3 separate regions of the Homo sapiens genome follow, and regions 2 and 3 are each linked to region 1. The links are contacts of gene promoters, found by promoter capture Hi-C in blood cells and fetal thymus (Javierre and others, 2016). All regions are on one chromosome and are shown on one strand. Each heading gives the region's core, a stretch centred on a gene start or on the middle of the fragment in contact. The rest is flanking DNA. Distances are from core to core; before and after follow the strand shown. Region 1 holds the start of MMP2 (matrix metallopeptidase 2). Region 2 overlaps CES5A (carboxylesterase 5A). Region 3 has its middle 82 kb from the start of CES1.

The links. Contacts are between HindIII fragments. The CHiCAGO score rates a contact against its expected background, and 5 or more counts as called.
Region 2: a fragment that was not itself captured here is called in contact with the fragment with the promoter of MMP2 in region 1 in 1 of 17 cell types (monocytes); the score reaches 5.2 in monocytes.
Region 3: a contact is called between a fragment that was not itself captured here and the fragment with the promoter of MMP2 in region 1, in 1 of 17 cell types (M1 macrophages). The highest score is 5.3, in M1 macrophages.

Annotation. Positions count from the first base shown.
Region 1 is chr16:55,476,768-55,481,670 of GRCh38, reverse strand. MMP2 (matrix metallopeptidase 2) reads right to left here and starts at 2,473. Exons shown (of 13, transcript NM_004530.6): 1 at 2,039-2,473. The coding sequence starts at 2,191. The HindIII fragment of the contact is 12,132 bases long and covers 1-4,903 here.
Region 2 is chr16:55,864,446-55,869,348 of GRCh38, reverse strand. CES5A (carboxylesterase 5A) reads left to right here. Exons shown (of 13, transcript NM_001143685.2): 5 at 3,233-3,386. Among named protein-coding and RNA genes, the nearest start is that of CES5A, 8.5 kb to the left of the region's middle. The HindIII fragment of the contact is 7,799 bases long and covers 1-4,903 here.
Region 3 is chr16:55,748,839-55,753,741 of GRCh38, reverse strand. It overlaps the pseudogene CES1P2. Among named protein-coding and RNA genes, the nearest start is that of CES1, 82 kb to the left of the region's middle. RefSeq lists an enhancer at 1-1,197. The HindIII fragment of the contact is 5,815 bases long and covers 1-4,903 here.

The DNA.
Region 1 (4,903 bases), core at 1,224-3,723:
AGACTTCCATTTGTCAGAGGTGTTCAAACCAGGCACCTCCATCTTGAGTGGGGGGCTGGGTAAGATGAGGCTGAGACCTGCTGTGCTTCATTCCCAGGAGGGCAGGCATGCATTCTTAGTCACAGAATGAGACAGGAGGTTGGTAGGACTGATTTCACCATATACAGTTCGGGTCACAAAGACCCCTATGATAAAACAGGATGCAGTAAAGAAGCTGGAGAAAGCCCACCCAAACCAAGACTGCAATGAAAGTGACCTCTAGTCGTCCTCACTGCTCATTATATGCTAATTATAATGTATTAGCATGTTAAATACATTAGACACTCCCACCAGCGCTGTGACAGTTTATAAATGCCATAGCAACATTGAGAAGTTACCCTATATGGTCTAAAAGGGAGAGAAACCCTCGGTTCCAGGAACTCCCCACCCTTTTTCTGGAAAACTCTTAAATAATCCACCCCTTGTTTAGCATATAATCAAGAAATAACCATATGTATACTCAGTCCAGCAGCCCATTCCCTGCTCTGTCTATGGAATAATCACCCTTTTATTCCTTTACCTTCTTAATAAATTTGTTTTCACTTTACTCTGTTGGCTCGCTCTTGAATTCCTTCCTGTGCAAGCCAAGAACCCATGTGGCCCCCAGGCTGAACCCCAATTTAGGGGTTCATCCTGTGACCCATTGGCTGGAAAAGGTGTAGGAAACCAAGTAGCTTTGTCATTGTCCCAAAGCTCCACTCTCACCCCCACCCAACAGCCACATCATTATGCCAGCCAGCTCCAGATCCTTGAAAAAAGTAGCCCTCTAAAAATGTATGGAGGTTTCCCAACCCATCTATCCAGAGGGGGCTGAGACCTAGCTGTTTGGAAGGGTGAGAGTTGGGAGAGGGTAGTTGTCACCTCCTGAAGGAGTTCCTAGGGTGACCAGAGGGCATGGGCGTCTTCTCCCGGACAGGTTGAGGGGGAGGCTGGAGGGCAGGGTGGCTGAAGCAACAAGGGAGCAGATATCCCCTGGACTGGAAAGGACATCTTGATGGGTCCCTGGCCTGCCTCTCTCCTCAGGCCCTACTTACGCAACACTGCGGCCAGGCTCAGTGCCCCTCCAGCCAGGCGCGCGCACGCTCACAAGACAACATCTGAACCGCGGTTTGGGAGCCCAGCCAGGAAGGAGGGCTCTCTGGCCGCTCTCCGACCCGAGCGGAGCGCAGTCCGCCCCCGCCCCACGCGCCGGGCCCTCCAGCGCCTGCCCCACTCCTCCTCCCTCCTGCCGGGCCAGCTCTCTCCTTCTTTTCTCCGACCCTTTGGAGAAGTTCGAGGAAACTTTCCGAGGCCCAGCCCTTGACCAATTTGTCCATTAAGCCAGGAGAAAAAAGATGCGCTCTCTGCTTCCCTCCTGCCCCAATCACTTCCCAAATGGCCCCCTCGAGCTGTTTGTTTAAAGGTCCCTCTCCGGATCTGTGCCGAAGGTTCCTAGAAATTTGCCAAGCCCCGCTTTGACCAAGCTCCCTCCCATCCTTATGCGCGCATAAGTTTACCCAAATTGTGTGCCAGAGCACCGTTCCCAAAGTCCTACATTAGCAAAAACGACCCCTGTAGCTGTTTGCCAAAGGCTTACCTAGACGCTTGGCAAGAGCCCTTAGCAACTGCCCAGATGTGTCCAAAAGTTGTTTACAAAGACCGCCCCCCCCCCCCGCCAAATGTCCCAGATACTAGAGGATGTCCCCGCTATTTACATAAGAGTCCCTTTCCAGTAGTTTGCCAGGTCACCCCTCTCCCACTCTCTGGCTTGTTTTTCGCCCCACTGCTGTATGCTGAAGGTTGCCAAATTGTTTATCAAAGGTTTTCTTTGCTTACAAAAGATCCCCCACCGTTTGCAAGAGATCACTCCAATAGCTTGCCAAAGACCCCCCAAGCTGTTTACCGAAGCCCCTCCCCCACGCTGTGTGCCCACCGCCGAGGGCAGGGGGAGAGACACCCCCATCCTTTGCCTCCGAAGTTTGTCTAAACGTGGTTCCTTGAGGCCAGCGCAGCAACTCACCACTGCCAACTCTTTGTCCGTTTTGGGGGCGACATCGCCGGGGAACTTGATGATGGGCGACGGCGCGGCGGCGGCGTGGCTCAGCAGGCAGCCCAGGAGACAGAGCGCCCTCAGGGGACCCGTGAGCGCGCCCCGGGCCATTAGCGCCTCCATCGTAGCGCTCCCTGGCCCCGCGCGTCGCCCGGGGGTCGCTGGCTCGGTGCGTGTGGCCGCCTCGCCGCCTGGTTGGAGCCTGCTCCGCGGCGCAGGGCTGCGCTCCGAGGGTCCGCTGGCTCGGTGGCCTGGGGTTTGCCCGGCTCAGCGGCTCATGGTCCGGCCCCCGCGCCCCAGCCCCCGCCGCCGCCGCCGCCGCCGCAGGTCCTGGCAATCCCTTTGTATGTTTAAAGCCCCAGATGCGCAGCCTCCAGCCACCGCCTGAGGAAGTCTGGATGCAGCGGAAACAAGGGAGGGCAGCCGCCAGATGTAGCCGGCTGGGCTGGGAGGGAGCTGGCAGAGCGGGGCTGGGGGCGGGGGGCGCACTCGGGCCCGCCCCTCTCTGCCCCACCCCCCTACTCGCCCTCCTCCACTTTTCTCCTCTTTTTTCCTTTCTCCACCTCTTTTCCCCGGCCGCCTGCTACTCCTGGCCTCTACGTCCACCCTCAGTGCACGACCTCGTCACCCCACTTGCCTCTCTCGCGATCTGGGCGCACAGCCTCAGAACCCCCTGCTGGGAAACATCTGTCGCTCTAGGCCCTTGACGTCCTGAGGTTAGAGAGCAGCGGTACTACTAGGAGGGACGCCGGCTTGGCTAGGACACCCTGCACTCCCTGGGGTCAGGAACGGGAAGGAATGGTCAGAAACAGATGATCAGCCACAATGATAGATGGTCAGAGACAGAAATTTTCGATATTTAGGGATAGGGACAGAGAGATTCTGGGATGAACAGAGATGGAAAGAGAGAGATGGAAACAGAGACAGTGGAAGGTCCCAGGTTGCTTCCTTACCTCTTTCCTTCTGCAAATGTGTAAGCCTTAACTTGGCCTCGTATAGTGCGAGATGCTAGATACACCTTGGGAAATAGAGCAGTCAGGGGCCCCGCGTTAGAGACGTTGGAACCAGAGCGACTCCATCTTGAACAGGGGGCTGGGTAAAATGAGGCTGAGACCTGCTGGGCTGCACTCCCAGGAGGGTCCGCATTCTCGGTCACAGGATGAGATAGAAATTGGGCAAGACTGGTTTAATAAGATAGAGGTCACAAAGACCCCACTGATAAAACAGTATGCAGTGAAGAAGCCAGCCAAAACCAAGATGGCAAAGAAAGCGACCTCTGGTCATCCTCACTGCTCATTTTACGCTAATTATAATGCATTAGCATGTTAAAGGAAGCACCCACCAGTGCCATGGCAGTTTATAAATGCCATGGCAATGTGGGGAGGTTTACCCTATATGGTCTAAAAAGGGGAGGAGCCCTCAGTTCCACGAATTCCCCACTCACTCTTGAATCCTTTCCTGCGCCAAGCCAAGAATCCATGTGGCCTCTCAGGTCGAATCCCAATTTTGAAGTTCTCCCTGTGACAACCGTCTCTGAGGAATGTCTTCTCCCTCTCTCAGGAAAGACAGTTGAGAGATAAGCTGTGATGGGGAACTCCAGCAGGCTGTTGGGAACGCCTGACTTCAGCCCCTAAACTAGTAAAGACAATCAAGGAAGGCTTCCTGGAAGAAGTGACTTCTGAGCTGAGACCTGAAGAGCTAAAGAGGTGGAGTGCTGGGTGGGGAATATGGGGAATGTTTTAGGGAACATTGACAATGGCCCAGAGATGAAAAACAGCAAGAGGCACTGGAGAAGAAAGTTTTTTCTATCTGAAAAAGGTGGGGCACAGGGTGAGGGGATGGAGCTGGAGGGGTCAGTAAGGACCAGCCTAGGAAGGGGGCAGATAGGACTGGGGGTCAGCAGGGAACAGTTTGAGAAGTAAGGTCAGGGGCTGAAAGAATCAGGAGCAATATACTTGTGGGGGGCATTGGAGGTCACGATTATGTCTTGATCATCACAGCTAGAAAAGTCTCTGCGGCTTGGGTCTCAGTGGGCTTCAGACAAGTTCAGGCTTGTCTGGTGGGTGTGTGCTCTGACTTTCCAGAGTCAGTTTTAAAGGACCCTCTTGGGAGGGACCTTGCCCCGCAGGAGGGAGCCAGGCCCTTCAGCCTGACCCAGTGACAAACCTTGGCTGTTTTGGAGAGGGCGAGACTGAGGTCAGTTGGGAAGGGGGATTGCCTCCTGGCCCAGCCCCACTGGGCTCATGTCCACGTCCTGTGGATAGCCAGAGAGCCAAGTTGGAGAGCTGAGAGCTGAGAGTGAAAATGGAAAAAGTTATCTCACTAAAGCAGGGGCTGCAAACTCGTGGCCTGTGGGCTAAATCCAGCCTGAACAGCATTTTGAAATTTGGGAAACTTCATGTAAAAATCTGACTTTCTGGTTTTCTTTTTTTAAAAAAATTTCCCAAAAATCTGGCAATACTGGATGCCAGTTTCCATATGGCAATAATTTGCTGAAGTTGAGTAGTGACTGCTCCCTTTAGATGAGGCACATACTTTGGTTTGCCACAGTCCTCACCACTCTCTATTGTATTGCCTTGTATGTGACTCCCTTCACTAGGTGTTGTTCATTTACACTTGCCCAATTTGAGTTTTAACCTTTTCAGAAAGTCTCTGGAGTCTGCATAACATGCTTTGGAGCTCCTCTGGCAGAGGGCAGCTTTGACTGTACCTCTTCACAGCCTCTGTGGTTTTGGCATTCCAAGGGTATCGGTTTCCAGTGTGGGGCTTGGTGCCCATTCAGAGATGGCAATGGCTGCAGAAGCAGCACTCAGTGAGAGAGAGGCTTCTGTGCCC
Region 2 (4,903 bases), core at 641-3,140, 390 kb before region 1:
AGGGATCTGGCTCATCACATCTTGAGCTCTGATGTGGATTCTTTAGGGCCTCGATCTTCTGCATTTGGTGGGTGGACCGAGACAGCATGGAGGATCATGCAATGGAGGGTCTCCTGGCCCAGCCTGCAGGTGGCACTTGTCACTTCTGTTCACTCGCCATTGGCAGAACTCAGTCACATGGCCACATCCAGCTGCAAGCGAGCTGGGGCCATGTAGCCCCACTGTGTGCCCTGGAAGAACAGGACACTGTTTGTGTGAGCAGTCGGTGGTGTCTACCTGAGCCTCACCCCAGGTCTTCTCGAATGCTCACCTGAGAATCATCACTCTATCACAGTGGCTTCCCTCCTCCAATCAGGCCTAACATGTACTGGGCTTTCACTGAACCAGCCATGGGGCTGTGCACTTGCCATGCATTATTTCAACTCACCCTCAAAATAATCCTTCAAGGAAGGTTCTCTGTTGTTATTCTCATTTCACAGCTGGAAAATGGAGGCCCAGAGAGGCCAAACAACTTCCCAGGGGTCACAAAACAGAGCTAGGTCTCTTGACTGCTTCTATTATCCTGTCTAAGACATGGCAGGAGAAGTCCTGATGAGGGTCCAATGTAAACAAAGAGGAGAAGTGAGAGGTGGGGCCAGGATTATGCTTGCGGGTCACTGTCACATACTATGGTAAAGGCAGCAATGATTCAAATATGAATCCTGCCTTACAGAGGCTCCTGACTATGGGAGAGATAATGCAGGGACAAAAATATCCACATTACCAAGAAGGACATGGTTAATTCTCCAAGAGTGAGAGGCCATGGAGCTGTGGAAACAGAGGAGGGAGTTGCAAGGGATCAGGGAGGCTTCAGAGAGGGGTGACATTGGAGTTGCACCAGAAGGATGTGGTTGGGCTTGAGGAGAAGGGGTTCAGAGAACATGTGCTTGGCAAAGGGTGCTACCTGTGCAAAAACTAGGAAGTTGGGAGGGAGGTAGCAACACATGGGGATGAAGCAATACTTTTGCAGACTGCACTGGGCCTGTAGCCCTGGAATGTAGCTCTGGGAGTGCTTTGCAGGCAGGAGAGGCTGACGGGGTGCCCTGACCAGAGTAATTACACTTCTAGCTGCTCTATATATTAGGATTCTGCATAAGATTCCTTTGGTAGAAGAGCTTTCAATAATTGCTTATCGTATCTGGTTTTGATCATAGGTAGATGAAGCTACAGCAGGAGATGGATGCGGGAAGGCAAGGACAGGCCTGATAGGGAAAGGCCTTGAATGCCAGGCCATACATGGAGTTTTGGCTTTATCCAACACAGATTGAGGACCAGGAGTACCTTTCACAGAGTAGTGTACCAGGAACCTCACTCTGGAGCAGAGTGGAGGCTGAGCCAGGGGTGCCCAGCTGCAGATAGGGAGCCCCACTGGGAGGCACTGTCTTGATGCAGGCCATGGGGTCATTCAACCACAAAAGCAATAGCTAACATGTATATAACGTGAATATGACATGCTTATTTTCTGCCTGGCACTGTCAATCTTCACAACCATGTGGAGTGGGCACTATCATTATCCCCATTTTAGACATGAGAAGCATTGAGGCAAAGCAGGTTAAGTGATTTGCCCAAGGTCACCCAGATAATAAGTGGCCAGGCTGTGAATCCTGTGCTCGAGGCTGAGATAGTAACCACTAAGGTATAATGCTTCTCAGGATAAACAGAGATGGAGAAATGGGGACCAGGGTGGGAGCCACAGTAGAATGGAGGTAAAATTGGCAGGGCTTGACTCTTGAGCAGGGGCCTGGGAGAGAGAAGGTGGAGTGAGAGCCAGCTCAGTGGTCATAGACAGTGGAGGGGACCCAGGGGAAGGAGCAGTCTGGAGAACTGGAAAATGGAGGGGAGTAGAATGTGCCCCAGGGTGACGTGCACTGCATGCATGCTTTCGGTCTAGACATTTCTTTGGTTCTATGGCATTTCCACTTGTTTCATTTGTTCTCTCATTAATCCCATCCCGGGAAACATGCAATTGTGCAGGGGCAGCAGCATGGGGGTGTGGGATCCCAAAACTGCAGCTTTCTAGCTCTTGGGCAAGAGGGTTTAACCTCTCTGTGCCTGAATTAAAGAGTTGATGTATCCGTTGGTTTCCTGACAGCAGGCTCACAGGTTTAGTGGAAGGGAGCTGGCATGAGCTGCTGCTGTGGAGAAAAGCAGCCTCTGCCCAAACACTTCCCAGCAGAGAGGGAGCACGGGGTTGGGGGATAAACATCGCAGTCTCTCTCTAGCCCACCCTCATGGCACACAGCTGAGGCCTGGGTGATGTCATTCCTAGAGGTCAGCTTTTGAGGGGCAGAGCAGAGAAGGGTGGAGAAGACCCAAAAAAGCAAAGGGAGAAAACCCAGCACCACCTACCTCATAGGTGTGAGGGTTGTAGGAGTATTAGCCTTAAAGCCCTTAGAACAGTGTCTGGTACATGCTGCAGCTGCTGTTATTGTTTTTTGTTTGTTTGTTTATTTTTTTATTTTTATTTTTTTTGAGACAGAGCCTCACTCTATTGCCCAGGCTGGAGTGCAGTGGCATGATCTCAGCTCACTGCAAGCTCCGCCTCCCGGGGTCAAGCCATTCTCCTGCCTCAGCCTCCCGAATAACTGGGACTACAGGCGCCTGCCACCGTGTCCAGCTAATTTTTTTGTATTTTTTTTTTTTTTTTTTTTAGCAGAGACAGAGTTTCACTATATTAGTCAGGATGGTCTCGATCTCCTGACATCATGATCTGCCCGCCTCGGCCTCCCAAAGTGCTGGGATTACAGGCATGAGCCACCGTGCCTGGCCTGTTAATTGTTATTGTGACTACTATTAATTTAGTTTCATGGAAAATTCTGTGCCCAGGAAACTTCTTGCTTTCTAGTACAGATCACCTCTCAGGAATGGATTCATGGATTCCAGACAAGCCTGGGCAACACAGGATTCATGGATTGGGATTCATGGATTCTGAGGAACCTGTGAATACTTGAAATTGCAGCTACAATATTGAATGTGCATTTTTCTTAGGTGCATAGCTTTCATCAAATTCTCAAAGAAATCCAAATCTCAGCAAAGTGTGAGAACTGAGTCCGGTTTCCCCAGCTCCTCCAGGCCTCTGACTCTCCGCCCCCTCCCCACTGACCCCTGCCCACAGCCTCTGCTGAGAACTTCCAGGGCTGTGGGAAACACACCATGGCTGACCAAGAATTCTCACCCTGCCTCTTGTCCTCAGCACATGGGATCAGCATGCTCCGGGGAACTGGGCCTTCAAGGACCAGGTGGCTGCTCTGTCCTGGGTCCAGAAGAACATCGAGTTCTTCGGTGGGGACCCCAGCTCTGTGACCATCTTTGGCGAGTCCGCGGGAGCCATAAGTGTTTCTAGTCTTGTGAGTTCTCTGCTTTGTGGTTTGAATGAATCTCAGTGCCGGAGGTTCCAAAAATGATGATGAGTCACTAACATTTGATTGTTGCCTTCATGTTGAACAAACCCTTTAATACACATTGTCTTTTTCAAGCCTCACAACACATTATGAGTTAGGGGCTCAGTCTCATTTCACATACAGGACAGCTGTCACTGGGAAAGTTTAAATAAATCACCTAAGGTCACATAGTGAGTAATAATTTGAGGAAAAATCCCTTATATTTGTAGAGGAGAAACCCTAGTATTCAATTGCCAGAATGGTAATCACTTGTTTAATAGGAAACTCAGCTAAGACATGAAATGCCAAAAGATACATGTAAATATTTTATTTTAATTTAAACCATAAAATGTATATTCCCTCACCAACAGTTTGATACAGGGCCTTATGTTTGCAGAGTTGGTCTGCTGACTCGATTTCCAACATGGATTGTCTTGCATAAACCACCTGCAAAATTCACTGTCCTCAAATTGCAGTTTCAGTTTCTTTACAGTGGGCGCAAACTTAAAGATGCCTGCAAAGCAGTCTGACTTTAGCGCATTTGGGATTTGTATACTTTTCCTGCAAATATTTTACTCCTTTCTTGTCCACACACAATTTGACAGCAATATAAATAGAGAGATGTTTATCTATATATCTATATCTATATCTATATATTTGTATAGTGTATTTTATATATATACATACACACACATATATGGTTTTTTTGTTTTGTTTTGTTTTGAGATGGAGTTTCGCTTTTGTTGCCCAGGCTGGAGTGCAATGGTGCAATCTAGGCTCACCAGAACCTCCGCCTCCTGGGTTCAACCAATTCTCTTGCCTCAGCCTCCTGAGTAGCTGGGATTACAGGCATGTGCCACCATGCCCAGCTAATTTTGTATTTTTAGTAGAGATGGGGTTTCTCCATGTTGGTCAGGCTGGTCTCAAACTCCCGACTTCAGGTGATCCGCCCACCTTGGGTTCCCAAAGTGCTGGGATTACAGGCGTGAGCCACCGTGTCCGGTGACAGCAATATTTTTTTTGAGACAAGTTCTCACTCTGTTGCCCAGGCTGGCAAGCAGTGGGGCGATCATAGTTCATTGCAGCCCAAACTCCTGGTCATAGGCAATCATCCTGCCTTAGCCTCCCAAGGAGCTAGGACTACAGGCATGCGCCACCATGCCCAGCTAATTCTTTTTTTTTATTTTTTAAAATTTTTTTAGAGATGGGGTCTAGCTATATTGCCCAGGATGGTCTTGAACTTCTGGGCTCAAGTGATCCTCTTGCTTTGGCTTCCCAAAGTGCTGGGATTACAGGCGTGAGCCACTATGCCTGGCCTGACAGCAATATTTTTTTAGCCATCCTTTATCAAGAATTTTTTTTCCAGACATAATTTGATTTTCTTTGTACACATACAGTTCATTTGTTCTCATGATATTTCATTGATTGTGTAATTACAATAACAAGTGAAATTGACAAAACAGGTTTGGAAGCAAACACACCTG
Region 3 (4,903 bases), core at 1,223-3,722, 270 kb before region 1:
TTAAATGAGAACAGCTGACTGATTTCCTGGTGAGGGCTCTCTTCCTTGTTTGCAGACTGCTGCCTCCTCACTGTGTCCTGGTCTGGAACTTCTAGCCTCGAGAACTATGCAAATGCGAATTTCAGTTGATTAAGCTGACTCATTTCCTGGTGAGGGTTCTCTTCCTTGTTTGTAGGCTGCTGCCTTCTCACTGTGTCCTGTTCTGGAACTTATAGCCTAGAGAACTATGCAAATGCAAATTTTAGTTGATTAAACTGACTCATTTCCTGGTGGGGGCTCTCTTCCTTGGTTGCAGACTGCTGCCTCCTCACTGTGTCCTGGTCTGGAACTTCTAGCCTCGAGAACTATGCAAATGCGAATTTCAGTTGATTAAGCTGACTCATTTCCTGGTGAGGGCTCTCTTCCTTGTTTGCAGACTGCTGCCTCCTCACTGTGTCCTGGTCTGGAACTTCTAACCTAGAGAACTATGCAAATGCAAATTTCAGTTGATTAAGCTGACTCATTTCCTGGTGAGGCCTCTCTTCCTTGTTTGCAGACTGCTGCCTCCTCACTGTGTCCTGTTCTGGAACTTATAGCCTAGAGAACTATGCAAACGCAAATTTTAGTTGATTAAGCTGACTCATTTCCTGGTGAGGACTCTCTTCCTTGTTTGCAGACTGCTGCCTCCTCACTGTGTCCTGTTCTGGAACTTCTAGTCTAGAGAACTATGCAAACGCAAATTTTAGTTGATTAAGCTGACTCATTTCCTGGTGAGGGCTCTCTTCCTTTTTTGCAAATGCAAATTTCAGTTGATTAAGCTGACTCATTTCCTGGTGAGGCCTCTCTTCCTTGTTTGCAGACTGCTGCCTTCTCACTGTGTCCTGTTCTGGAACTTATAGCCTAGAGAACTATGCAAACGCAAATTTTAGTTGATTAAGCTGACTCATTTCCTGGTGAGGGCTCTCCTCCTTGTTTGCAGACTGCTGCCTTCTCACTGTGTCCTGTTCTGGAACTTCTAGCCTTGAGAACTATGCAAATGCGAATTTCAGTTAATTAAGCCACCCAGTCTGTGGTATTTTGTTACAGAAGCCCGAGCAGACTAATACATTCTCCAAGTGCCCTACACCAGTAAATTATGACATATCCATACAATGAATGACTATACAGCAATGATGACAAACTACAGCCATATACAACAATACACGTGAATCTCATAAACATAATATTGAGGGAAAGAAACCAGATGCAAGAGTATGTGATTCTGTTCATATAAAGCACAAAACCTGGAAAAAGAAATATTGCTGCTAGACATCAGGACTGTGGTGACCATTTTGGGTAGATAGGCAAGGAGGGGGAAGTGAGCAGGGCCTGGAATTGAGCTCCATGTGGCTTCTGGGATGCTGGTAATATTGTGTCTTGATCTGGGTCCTAATTACACAGTGTGATCAGTTAGTGAAGTTATCAAGTCATAATATATACATAGCATGTGTGTGTTTGTGTGTATGTGTGTATGTGTATATATATATATTTCTTATATGTATGTTATGTTCAATAAAAAACTGAAATGTTTGTACCAGACCTTAAGAACCTGTTATCTAATACAGGAGACAAGATTGATACAGATAAAATTACTGGTGATCACATAAATTATAGTTACAGGATAGAATATAAATGATCAAATGCAGCAATGATTTTAATCAGGACTCTGTCATATGTACTAAGAGAAATCCAACTGAAACTTACCTAAAGCATATATTGAATAAAATGTAGTCTCTCACATGAAAAGTTCAGGAGGTAAATAGAGCTTGAAATACAATTACATAAATAAATGTAATTAATGAAATAAATAGATTAGATAGGTAATAGATGATAGATAGATAATTGATAGATGGTAGATAGATAATAGATAGACAGATAGGTAGACAGACATTTTATGGCATTATCTTCCTATAAAGAGAGAAGTCTGTTTCCTACATGTCAAGGTAGAAAAGCTGTCCTCCAGGCACCCACGGTGTGCTCCAGCAACCTTGCCAACACCAGCCCTGCTGCCCGTGGGCTGGCCCCCTTGCCCCCACTGCTCAGGGTCACACTTCCACCACGTTGTGGCTGGCCATCCCCCTTCCTACCCATCCTTTAATTTCAGACTTGAGCTCCACCCCGTTCATGGAGCACAGCAAGCTCTTTGCAATGAATTCCCTTGTATTTTGACACAATCAAGTGGTAAGGTAGGTTTTTTTCTCCCCAGCCCTTCCCATCGCAGGGAATAATGAGGCACAGTCTTGATACAAACTTTTAGGAGAGCATGCGGGGCAGGACTGAGTGGGATCTGTCCCTGCTGGGGGAAGGGAGGCTCATCCTGTACATGCGTTACCTGGGGCAGCACCAGGTGGGGCAGCTACCCAGGTGCAGGGCCTGAGTCGGCTTCCCACCCTCCCCTGCAGCTCTGCCCAGGGCGAATTTTTTTTTTTTTTTTAGGTGGAGTCTTGCTCTGTCACCTAGGCTGGAGTGCAGTGGCATGATCTCGGCTCACTGCAAGCACTGCCTCCCGGGTTCATGCAATTCTCTTGCCTCAGCCTCCCGAGTAGCTGGGACTACAGGCGCCCACCACCACACCCAGCTAATTTTTTGTATTTTTAGTAGAGACGGGGTTTCATTGTGTTAGCCATGATGGTCTCGATCTTCTCACCTTATCATCTGCCTGCCTCGGCCTCCCAAAGTGCTGGATTACAGGCTTGAGCCACCATGCCTGGCCCTCTCTAGTCTGACTATCTACCCCAATCTTTCTCCTGGGCAATAGGAAAAGTTATGATTTTGAGGACAATCCAGCTTTTTCTCTTGCTGATAAGGCAGGAGTGACACTCTTTAGAGTTTTCCACATTCTAGCAGAATCCAGAAATCACCCCTGAGATTCTGAAAGACACAGTATTAGGATGACCCTCTGGAGACTTGCTCTAAGGTGGTCAGTGCCCGCAACAGAAGTGGTCCAGGTTACAGAGGGAGTTTAGACCAGCTGTTGAAAGAGACAGCCTCAGGGAGGGGTCTAGGAGGCTAGTGTACATACTGAGGAAGGTGTGGCAGACCTGTGCAAGAGTCAATAAAGGCCATCCAACAGTGCCACGGGATCACCTCGGCACCTCTCTCTCTTCCCTGATCCAGGCAAATTCTCAGCCTGGGCCATTTCCATTTCCATAGGCAGATCCAAATGGAGGATAGGGATGCTGCACTCTGGCAATCCTAAATCCTATTGTTGGAAATTCTTGGGGGCTCAGAAACATGCAGTAGGCCCAGAGCTCCCCTGAGCACTGTCCATGACCCAGCCCTCTGGACTGTACTCGTCCTGAGGCCAGGCCATCCCCAGCAAAGCCAGCTTCCTTCTCACATTGCCTCTTTCATCATCGTTCTGTCTCTGAGGAGGATGGATTAATCTCTAATACAAGACACAAGCAGTGATTTGGCTTTCAAAAGATCTTTTATTGCCAAAGCTGAGGTCACAAATAAAAAACTTGCTCCTTCATGACCTCTGCCCCCTACCCCCCACCACCAGACAATTCCCCAGCCATGGTAAGATGCCTTCTGAACCTGCAATCCCTTTGGCAAAAGACCCCAGTCTTTGCTCCTCCAGGTTCCTGAGGCTGGATGGACCTTCCGTTCACAGCGCAATGTGTTCTATCTGGGGTGGCTTCTCCACTGCCTTCTTGGCGAAGAGTTTGGTCCAGAAAGCTACTTCCTTGTCCTTCAGCTTCTGGGCTGCCTGGGTGTTAGCACCAATCTGCAGGTACCCTTCCTCCTGGTTGTACTCTGGCCAGTGCGGCAGCCCTTCTCCATTGGGGTTTCTGGAAACAAAATCAAATAGAATTGCCCCAAAGCTGCTGTGTGTCCCCAACAATCTTCAGAGATGTGTGAGGACGCCCAAGTTATCTCCGTCAAGAGGCTTGTATATCTCCAGAGACGGGGAGTTCACTATCTCCAGGGGCGGCCTCTCCATTTGTAGAGAGCTCTCATTGTCAGAGTGCTATGGTCACAGGGTCAGAAGTTTGATCGCTAGAACCTTAGAAGCTGCCCCTTCCCAATAGGCATGCCCCGCCCCCCACCCTCACCAGCTGTGCTGTGTCTTTGCCAAGAGCCTCACCCATTGCGAGCAAAGTTGGCCCAGAATTTCATCACCATCTTGCTAAGTCTGATCTCCTCTTCTGAGGCACCCTCTGTGGGGAAGAAGAAAAAAAGCCTTTGTTACTCAAAGTGTGGTCCGCGGACCTGCATTGTCAACTTCACGTGCAAACCTGCTAGAAACATAGTCTTGGCGCATGCTCCACACCCACTGAGCTGAGGTCTGCACATTTAGAAGATCCTGGTGGATTTGTGTGTACTTTACCTTTAAGCATGGCTGACCTAGGGCTCAGCAATGGGCATGCATCATTCCATGTGCTTGCCCCACCTCCCAGGGTTGCTCTCTCTTGCACACACCCACAATTCACATTCTGAAATATAACAGAACTCAAGCCTCCTAAGGGTGCATAATTGGGACATGCCCAGTGGCGATGGTGCGTCCTGAGCAGCCATGGGGTGAGTCCCATGTGATCTGTAACAGCTGAGAGTTAAGGCTTAGAAGACATCATGAAAGGATTTTTAAAAATATTGTATAATGTAAACTAAAAATAAAATCCTAACACCCCCAACTCACTGAACAGACCCTCTCTGGGCTAAGGGGACCCCAGAAAAACCCTAAACTGAGTTCCTGCCTGGAAACAGACAGGAGGTCAGACACGCCTCATCATACTCCCCCTTTTTTGTGGTTTAGACACCACCGGACGAGTATCAGCAATAAAATAAAGGTGATCATTCTGACAGAACACACTCCTTGTGGCAATAAGACACCAAATTAAAAAAAGATCGAAGGCCATGCCGGGCAAGGGTTCAGGCCTGC